2 separate regions of the Homo sapiens genome follow, and region 1 is linked to region 2. The links are contacts of gene promoters, found by promoter capture Hi-C in blood cells and fetal thymus (Javierre and others, 2016). All regions are on one chromosome and are shown on one strand. Each heading gives the region's core, a stretch centred on a gene start or on the middle of the fragment in contact. The rest is flanking DNA. Distances are from core to core; before and after follow the strand shown. Region 1 overlaps SYNE1 (spectrin repeat containing nuclear envelope protein 1). Region 2 holds the start of MTRF1L (mitochondrial translation release factor 1 like).

Evidence for each region. The method cuts DNA at HindIII sites, captures the fragments that hold promoters and counts their contacts. A CHiCAGO score of 5 or more calls a contact.
Region 1: a contact is called between a fragment that was not itself captured here and the fragment with the promoter of MTRF1L in region 2, in 1 of 17 cell types (neutrophils). The highest score is 7.7, in neutrophils.

Annotation. Positions count from the first base shown.
Region 1 is chr6:152,572,293-152,577,328 of GRCh38, forward strand. The region is part of intron 3 of SYNE1 (spectrin repeat containing nuclear envelope protein 1); the gene reads right to left. Among named protein-coding and RNA genes, the nearest start is that of SYNE1, 63 kb to the right of the region's middle. RefSeq lists an enhancer at 413-975. The HindIII fragment of the contact is 671 bases long and covers 2,302-2,972 here.
Region 2 is chr6:153,001,042-153,006,180 of GRCh38, forward strand. MTRF1L (mitochondrial translation release factor 1 like) reads right to left here and starts at 1,668. Exons shown (of 7, transcript NM_019041.7): 1 at 1,386-1,668. The coding sequence starts at 1,644. It overlaps RGS17 (regulator of G protein signaling 17), which reads right to left. Exons shown (of 5, transcript NM_012419.5): 5 at 3,418-5,139. RefSeq lists silencers at 1,416-1,475, 1,486-1,595 and enhancers at 1,825-2,825, 1,916-2,025. The HindIII fragment of the contact is 13,608 bases long and covers 1-5,139 here.

The sequences.
Region 1 (5,036 bases), core at 1,387-3,886, 430 kb before region 2:
CCAATTCAGTTCTTCTCACTATTCTTAAAGGAGGGTCCATTAATTACATGTATCCAAAATGCACAACAATCTAATTAGCTGTTAGAATGACTCACTTCAGTCCTCAATGTCTTGCTTTTTGTAAAAGTGCTCATTTCCTATGACTTATGGGAGAAATTGTTTGGATTGGAAGAGCTTCAAAGCCAATAAACAGAATAAGGGGACTCCCAGAATAATAGATTTCTAGAATAAGAGCACTTTTTATGGATTAGGAAACAGCTCCAGAGTCTATGACCCGCCCAACGTCACAAAACCAGAATGTCAGTAATACTACTCATCGTTGCCAGATACTCAAAAGCTCCTCTGCAGTTGGAAAGATTCGTTCCAGAAAAAGTCTTTCCTGAAGGGCAACTCACTTTCGCTAGGGATGAAGAGTAACTTAAAAAGGAGAGAGAGCGGAGGTAAGGGGAATGAATTGGTGTAATGCCAAAAGCTGTGGAATAAAAGTTATTCCATGGTATTTGTTCATGGGTGTTGTGTGTGAATGATGTGTGTTGATGTTTTCTGGGTCATTTAGTTTATGAGGGAAGGCAGGAAAAGCCAACAGAGCATACAAAAACAAATCAGCCACAAATTCTGAAAGAGGGAGTTGCCTTTGGTCTAATAAACATTTTAGGAATGTAAACACCTTCTGGGAAGGATTCCTTCTGGGAATGTCTATTTGACATTCACACCTCATTGTCAACTGCTCGAATTAGATAACACCTTGTTGAATATCCTCAGGCAATGAAAAATTAAAGGTAAAGAAAGAGAAAGGAATACTTTTCTAAGGGCGAGGCACTTAGAGGTGGAGACTCCCCTCTGGGCATTACCTACTTGAGGTCTCTATAGAGGAGGCTGATTTTTTTTTAAATTTTATTATTATTATACTTTAAGTTTTAGGGTACATGTGCACAACGTGCAGGTTTGTTACATATGTATACATGTGCCATGTTGGTGTGCTGCACCCATTAACTCGTCATTTAGCATTAGGTATATCTCCTAATGCTATCCCCCCCCCTCCCCCCACCCCACAACAGGCCCTGGTGTGTTATGGTCCCCTTCCTGTGTCCATGTGTTCTCATTGTTCAATTCCCACCTATGAGTGAGAACATGCGGTGTTTGGTTTTTTGTCCTTGCGGTAGTTTGCTGAGAATGATGGTTTCCAAGGCTGACATTTTTAACTGAAACTGAAGAGAAGTGATGAAAAAGCAGGTTGGATTCCATTGCTCACAACTCTTCTTTCCTCAGATGACCCCAACTTACCATTCTCTAATTTTGAAAACAGGAAAAAATGTTCAAGAAGATTTAGAACCTATCTTCAAGAAATGTCAAGAATGTAATATTGGGACTCTCATAAATCATAACTTTTCTGCCTACATTTTCTGAAGATTTCCCTATAAAAGTCTGTTACCTTGACACTCTAATTCATATGCTCAAGAATTAGGTTAATTATTTTTTAAAACTTTGAAGAAAATGATCAAACTAACAGTAACAATAGCATCTACCCATCCTAAAAGAGTATGCATCATATACAGCAAACTTCTATGACTAAGAAACAAAACAGGTTCATTGTTAGATACAGCATAATAGCATCAAAGCTCTGCTTCACCTGTTGGAAGCACAGAACATATTTTAACTTTACGGGCTGTGGGAGCTGGGGGAAGCAAAAACATTAGAGATGTTCAACCAAGCTCTGAGTCATCTCTTTATGAGTTACAGATTCTTAAAAACAAATTAAATGAAGTCCCCAGCTGTAACTATGATTTGAGCCTCATAACGGGGTGAGAATGGAGAAAATGGGCCAAATCTACAGTTATGGAATATATAATGGGATATACACATATATATGTATATATATACACACATATATATATACACATAAATATATACATATATATATATATATATGGCAGATATAACAAGATAGGCCTTAGAAGTTAATTTGGTGGCAAAAGGAGTAGGTTTAGAGAGGAAATATATATAATATATATTTGTTGTTTTCGTAGATGAGATCTGGAGAGTTGCCTCAGAAACGTGTCTGCACCTCTGCAAAGGCATCCCCAAGCTCAACCCTGTGTAATTACCTCCTCTTTGCTCTTGTTCTTGCCTTTCCTTTCTGCACCTGACAGTTAATTGCTGTAATTGAACAACAAGGACTGGGATGCCCTTCCTCCTCTTGCTCTCACTTCTTTCATGACTCTCTTCAGTCTTTGTTGGTTGATTAAGCTTAAGCAGTCTGGTAATCAATCCAAATCTTATCTCATTAATTGGACTAAATGAAGCTTTGAGGGAAGGAAAGGAGATGAGCATAATAGGTGCTAAGTAAATACCGTAGTTGTTTCTCAACCATGGAAAACCCCACTTGAAGGATATACACTTTATATGTTTGCATGAAAGTATTAAGGTATTTGAAGTAACTAAGGTAATCAAAGTAATTTTCCCCAATGTATAATCTAACTTCTGTTTTTTTCAGGCACACTAACACTTTCAGATCCTTGGGACAGGCACCATTCAGTCAAATCCTTATAGAGCAGGACTCTTGAAACGTCAGTTCACTCTTAGCTGTTTTTGGTTTGTTTTTTGTTTTGTTTGTTTGTTTTTAATTTTGTTTGCTTTTCATTTCTGTGGCTTTAGGTTCTTTAAGCCACCATGGAAGTACTTATTTTAAGAGAATAACCATTGGAATTATGCTTTCTTAAGAAAAATAAATGTGAATGAATGTACCAAACATGAAATGTAAGAACTCTTCCATCTAAGCTATAATCCCATCCCTGAATGACACATGATGGTGGTGGGTACAGTTGATGAGGTTTTCTCTAACTCCGGTGGTATAGGATGGTGGTCTTCAATCTGGGAATGTAATAAATGCCCTAAAGGACTATTTCAAGGAGCAACACCTGATAAAGTTTTTCCTAATGTCATACTGCATTGAGCAGAACAATTCTGAATGAAGCTTTTATTTAGTGGTCTGGGCTGAATTACATGCCTCTAGATTTGTATCTGTCAAAATGTGTTTCATGGACGAATGACATCAGAATGCAATGCTCACTAGAGATGGAGCTTCCTGGGTTCTGCATTAGATGCCCCAAGACTCTCTGAGACAAGGCTTAGAGGTCTGCATTGGAACACACTCCTCATGTCATTCTTATCCGAACTAGAATTCAAAAACCACAGCTTTAGAATCTTAAAATAGTTGTTCAACAATTTATTTATGCAAACTGCTGAAAACATGAAAAAGAGAAGTTATATTGCATTTCACTACAGTTCAGTAATCCAATAGGCTGTTGTTCCATTTTAAGATTGTGGAGTCAACATAAATAAACATGATCTTTGCAGTCAGAACAGCCTAGATTTGCCACAACTTACTAGCTATGCAACCTTGAACAAGTTTCTCAGCCTATCAGAACATCAGTTTCATCATCACTGTAATGAGGAAACTATTAACAGCTACCTCACAGGGTTGCTTGAAAGCTAAATGAACAATGTATATGCAAAACACATAGCACAGTGCCTGGAATGTAATAGGCATTTAATGCATGCTACATTATTACTTTCTATCTTAGCAACTTGAGGTGACTGTAATCTCTTTTAAAATATTCAGTGTAAACAAACTTTCTCTTATAATTCTTGCAGCATTATTAGTAATGTTCTGGGAAACGGCTATTGCATAATCTGCCAAATAAGAACAAAGTGGACCTCGGCTAATCAGCAAACGTGCCTGTGCATGTCTTTCTGGTAGCAATTCAGTCAGCTATTAAATTGTTCCTGCTGTGTTTTTTCAAAAAAATAAGTACCAACCCATCTTTCTTTGCTAATGTTAACTCTAATCTGCGTTAGCTGCTTGCTTTTGCAGTTATTGGTATGCATTCACATTCTGTATCTATAGGATATAAATAAAATCAATAGAACTTGCTTTGCGTGAGCCAGTGTTCAAGGTCCAACTACAGATTGGGAATAAGGAATTACTAGGCATTTACAGCAGAAATACTAGCACATAGCACAGTCTTGGTTTTTGAGTCCTACTATGCAGTTTACAACACTCCCATGTATTTAGACAGTGTTAGGTTTTTCTTCCAATCACTCAGTTTCCAAGAGTACATTATACTCAAATTTCTTGATGACAAATCCTATGCAATTTGGTGTGTTTTCCTTTCTAAACCTACTCCTTTTGCCACCAGATTAACTTCTAAGGCCTACCTTGTTAGATCTGTCAGAGGTAAGTAACTAAATAATTAACTACTAGGGGATGCAGGCTACCCCAAAAAGACACAGGTATTTTCCAAGTGACACAGGGGCACACAGAACAAAGGCTTTCAAAACCTTGTCATATTTTCAGTCACAGCAGGTATAAGGACAGATAGCCAGATTCTTGACCTTCCTATTCAAATTAGCTACAGGAAGTGGGGAAATTATTTTACACTCCTCTAAATCTGGCTGTCAAGAATTAGTGGAAAAATCCAACTTTGAATTTGTGCTTCCCTGAGTGTAATCACATTTAGTCCGATTAGATTAAAGAAGAGTAGATCACCCTCAAAGCAAACAGGAAATGGAGACACAATTTGACTTCATGATTGAGCACTAACAAAAGATATATGGAAAATAGATTGGGGTCTAAAGCAAATAGCATTTTTAGTAATTTAAAAATAACTTGAGAGACACATACACATATAAAATGCCAGCTTTTATTGTCAGACAATCAAAATTGTTCATATGTTAAGAAGGCATTTTTTTGTCATTTCTTTAAATTAATTTGAGCTTCAGATAGGAAGGCTACAATCACTGCAGCTAATAAAGTGTTTTTGTTCTTGACAAAGAATAAAACTTGCTGTTGCAAGTGGCTCAACGATAGAAAGAATCTTATTAGAAGTATAATTAATGCAGGGCTTTAAAGAAGTCACATTGCTAACCTAGGGTGCATGGTTTTAGGCAGAAATGTGAACACAATTGCCACTTTGCAAGAACTCACCAAGATCCATGAAAACAATTGAGTCTAAGAAATGACATCGTTACTGCAT
Region 2 (5,139 bases), core at 418-2,917:
TTTGCATTGTTTGTAGAGACAGGGTTTTGCCATGTTACCCAGGCTGGTCTCGAACTCCTGGGCTCAAGTGATCGGCCCACCTGAGCCTCTCAAAGTGCTGGAATTAGAGGCGTGAGCCACCACGCCTGGCCAAGGATCTCTTACTTCTTGAAATTTTCTATTGGCTTCTACAGCTTCATTTATTTATCTACTTCAGGGTCACAAAGCTCTGGCTGTTTTTTTCTTGACCTTTTATAGCCTTCTTCTCTGCCTGCTCCTCAAATACTGTGTATTTCTGGCCTTGTTAGACTTGTTTCTATCTTAACACATTTTCCCTGAGTGTTCTCATCTACTTCTAAGGTTTAATTTACCACGTACTGTATATCTCGAGAGCTCTCATATGATTATTTGGGCTCAATTTTTCTCCTATGTCAGTAATTTTTTCTCCTAGACTAGTACAGATATCTTTATTGGAATTCCTTTTCACAGGTATTTTTAACTTAATATGGCATTCAATGCAAAACTCATCTTTTTAAAAAATTCGGTCCAACTTTTATACTTTCATCTTAATTAACAGTACCACTCGTGCTGAAGCCAGAAACCTAAGACTTTTCTTAGAACTAACTCTCTCCCTCATCCTTCTCAGGGCATAAGCCACTAAATCCTAACTTGTTTCTCAAAATGTTTTGTGAGTCAGAACTATGCCTATCACCATTTCTTCTTTGGATTGTTTCAACTGCCTCCTCCCTGGCCTGTCAGCCACCAGCGTTTCTGGAGAATACTCCAATTTATCCTCAGCGCATGCCACCATTAACTTTTCTTTACAAAGACGTGAATTCTCTGCTTAAAAACATTTGCTAACTTTCCATGGTCTATAAAAAATAAATCCAAATTCTTTGTCTTGCAAGGTTCTTAACTATTTTTCTGGCTTCATGTTTCTATGACATCATCTCCCACCTATTCTATACTTAGGCCATACTGAATTTCCCAATTTAGTACCTTTACCCACGTATAGGTCTGAGATTCTGAGTCCTAAGTCTGCTATTAACAAGCACTGCCCTGATACTACTGCAAATGGGTCTCCACACCACACTTTGAGAAACACCGCTGTGGAGCCCATCACAGGGACAGTGCCTTATTTATCCTTGCTGAGCTAATGAGCTCTTGCCCGAGTCCACAACTAATAAGCATGTAAAAGGCGGCAGAGCGCCGTGGCAAAGGAGCACAAGAGAGCCCACAGGAGAGGATGGGATCACAGCACGTAATGATGTCCTGACCTCTGATCCAAAATAAAAACGGCTGCAAGTGAGTAAAGAGTTTCAAACTCGGGTAGTGTGGGCAGTGGAAAAGTCAAACGAAGAGTCAAGAATGTGCTCTGACGCCTCTCCCCCGGGCCCGACCCTTACCGTGCAGCAAGTGCTCAGTCTCCCGCAGCTCCCGCTCCTTCTCGTTCAGCAGTTTGATCACCGCCAGCAACTCGGGCCTCCTGACCTTCAAATGGGCTTCAGACCCCGCCTGGCGCTCGAGGAAGGTCCGCAAGGGCCCGCCCCGGGTGAACAGCTCCTCCAGCGGCGGGCTACCGGAGCTCAGGGGCCGGCGGGCTGGGCCAACGGCCCGGCGGGGCCAGAGCCACCGGGCAGCGCCCCACAGAACCCGGGACCGCATCCTTAGTCCGAGATCGCGGACCCTGACCGGAACCGGAAGTTCCGGACACAGCAGCCCTCGCGACAACACCCAGAATTTGGAGATAAGGGTGAGAGCGCACCAAGCCCCGCCCAGCGCAAGCGTTGCTTTTTAAAGGATTTTCCGGAAGCCTTGGCGGGAACTTCCTGCCAAGCGTGAGAACGCTGCGAACTTCCCGGAGGCCAAAAGTTGAGGGGGCTGAGCGGAGCGTGATTGGGGAGGGGCGGGCCTGGGAGACCTTGGGCGCCTCCTCTGAAAGCCTCTTGGTAGGTATCCGGTTGATGGGTGACGTGTTTGGCCGGAAAGGGAGAGCAGCAGATTGCCCCTCTGTTTTCTGATAGTGAGGATTTCTTTCCCATGCACTGAGTCGGGGCCTCCAGAGCCGCAGTGCAGGGCAGTCGAGGGTCCGCTGCAGGGCGGAGGTCACAGCCGCGCAAGTCGTCAGTCTCCGGTGCAGGGCTGCCGCTGAGTCTTCAAGAGCGAGTTTTATTATGGACAGGCGTGTGTTTATTCCTCCTCCTTTTTTCCTGCTTATGTTTCTCTTGTCCACGGTGGGTGAGGTTCGTGGTAATAAGGACTTGATAAGTGTATTATGAGATAACCACTGAATGAATTTGCACAATAGACGTGCGTGCCCTTCATCTGCCGCGTCATTTACTTGCTTTCAAAGGACTTTATTATTCACCTGCCCATTCATTTTCACTTAGTCCCACTTATCGTCAGCTTTTTAAAGAGGTGGAGTGATTCCGTGTTACAGCAACCTACAGCCCAACAAAGCCTTCAGATATCTGCCTCCAGGAGTCCAACCCTCATCCCTTTCCAAAGAACTGGTAGCGGATAGGTGCCAGCAATACCGACATTTATTGGCACAATGCTTTGCACTTTTCAAAAGACCTGTTCACAGCTCAACGGAGAAATAAATATGAGGGAATAAACACAACCAAGACAGTCCTGGGAATGCAAGGGCTAAACGCTCAATCTGAGAACTGCCACTACCTAACTGGTTTGGGCAGCGTCTACTAAGTGGTATTTCACTGTTGAGAGAGGTGATATATTAGAAGTACGAAACTTCTAATTTATTCATAAAAAATAAAATGGTAAAAAATGGGAACCCTTATCAAGGTTAAAATATCCTTAGGTCATCTAATCGAAACTGTTAAGTATAAACATTCTTAGAAAATAACGTTTGCATTGCCTCTCTCTTTTCATCTCTTAGCACGATAACAAATGCAGAGTGAGTGGAAGAATGAAATGACTCTTCAAACATCAGGAAGCAAAAATAGTTTTTTGCTACTTAAAGGCTCCACCTAATTATCTCAGTTCTTTTCACTTTGTGTATTCAAGCTACACAACTTTATACAATCGTTCTGCTGTTGAAACCCATTTTATTTTAATCCTGATCTGAGGATAGAACAGGACTGATCAGGATGTTTTTATCTCTATTAGAACAATTGTTTCCCAAGTCTGAACTTAACTTTGAATTTATCTTAACCATGGAAATGGTGAGAATCACTTGAACTCAACATGGTATATCTCTCAGTTGAGTTCTCAGAACATAAGTCATTTCAACAATATATTTTATTATTTATAAAAGGTGAAACATTTTAATAATTAAAACCTTATAGAACAATGTAAAGAATCTAGCCAGAATTTTATTTTCCCCCAAGTGCATAAGCAATTTAAGTAACACATAGAAGTGTACCTTTTATTCCTATAGTGTTATATACCAATGAGGAAACAGTAACTTTCTAAGGATACATTGTTGAATTCTTTATTAATTCAAAACATTTTAAGAAAGTCAGTGTAATGCATATGCATTTTACAATAACATCCATAGGTTTCCACAATCTAGTAAAATGAAAACAGCTGTATTTTGATTTACTTTGAAAACTCAAACCTATAGTTCGAGACTTCTGAATATTTTTACATTACTGTCATGCTCAAATTCTGTTACATGGTGAAAATTCTAGCATTTTCCAGAAGTATATTATTGTACATAGGTAAAATGATAAAATTGATTCTAGGAAGGGGGAAAAAAAAACCCAGAAAAACTTAAATTGGAGGAAACATAATCTGGATTATCTATTCAATTTGTGAATACCCACCGTTATTCTGGCATTGCAAAATAACCAAGTGTGGTGCCTCTTAAGTTGCATTCATGCATTCAAAACTTCTTTATTGTCCACTGATAAATATTGGTGGAGTACAATATATGGATATAGATTAAGTGTGATGAACATGGTAGTAAAAAATTATACACATTCGATATGTAATTTTACAAAACCAAACACATTGAATTCTTTTTAATATTTAGCAAACATTTAAAAATCATATACAAGAAAGGTGTTTATGACAAATCGGTTAAAGCTAGCGGGAAATAGGTCTTTTACATTATTTCAATATTCAGTGTTCATTGATTAGTGGAGGGCAATATAAAAATGCAATAAGCAAAATGGTTAGTTTAAATTTAAATTACCTCTTATGACAATTAGTAAGATAAGATCTTTAATATCCAAAGTATGTGGAGGATTATTGTAAATTGCGCAGACAGTTCAAGGGAAAAATTCACTTTCACCTCTATTAGGTGAATATTCAGGCTAAGACTTCTGGAGTTTTATTTTTCCACTTCACTGTATTTTCTTTATAGCATTTATTAGTAATCACTTAGTGGAACCTAATATTAGTGTTTAGAATTTGTTTAGCTCAGTGTAAATGTCCAGAAAATTTACCTTCAATATAATCTCTTTAAAAACGCATTACTTTACAGTGGAGAAATATAATAGATGCTACCTCAGCTAAGTGATCAAGGTTAACATCAACAGCTAAGAGTAGCCTAAAGTTTGAGAAACTGTCACAGCTAAGACGAGTCCCGGTGATGGCATATACCTTTGATACCATGTGATGAGCATGGCACTTTACCGTTGTGTTCTTTCAAAAACCAAAAACCTGTGTCTAGTCACGAGAAAAACATCAGACGAATCCCCATAGAAGGACATTCTACAAAATACCAGTTTATTTCTCAAAACTGTCATCAAAAACAAGGAAAGTTGCAGAAACTGTCACAGCCAAGGGAAGCCTAAGGAAACATGACAACTAAATGTAATGTGGTATCCTGAATGGGATCCTGGGACAGAAAAAGGACATTAGGTTATAAACTAAGGAAATCTGAATGAAGTATGAATGTAATGATCAATATTGGCTCATTAATGCCCATAGATGTATATGGGACCTCTCTATTTGGAGTTTTTCTGTAAATCTAAAACTACTCTAAAATAAAAGGTTTAATGGACACATTACTATTTTAAATTTTATACATTTTATTTTTTTCTTAGAGTCAGGGTCTCACTTTGTTGCATAGACATGTCTGGAACTCCTGGGCTCAAGTGATCCTCACGCCTTAGTCTCCCAAAGTGCTGGGATTGTATGCGTGAGCCACCGTGCCTGGCCCATTACCACCTTTTATTAAGTTTTTATTTT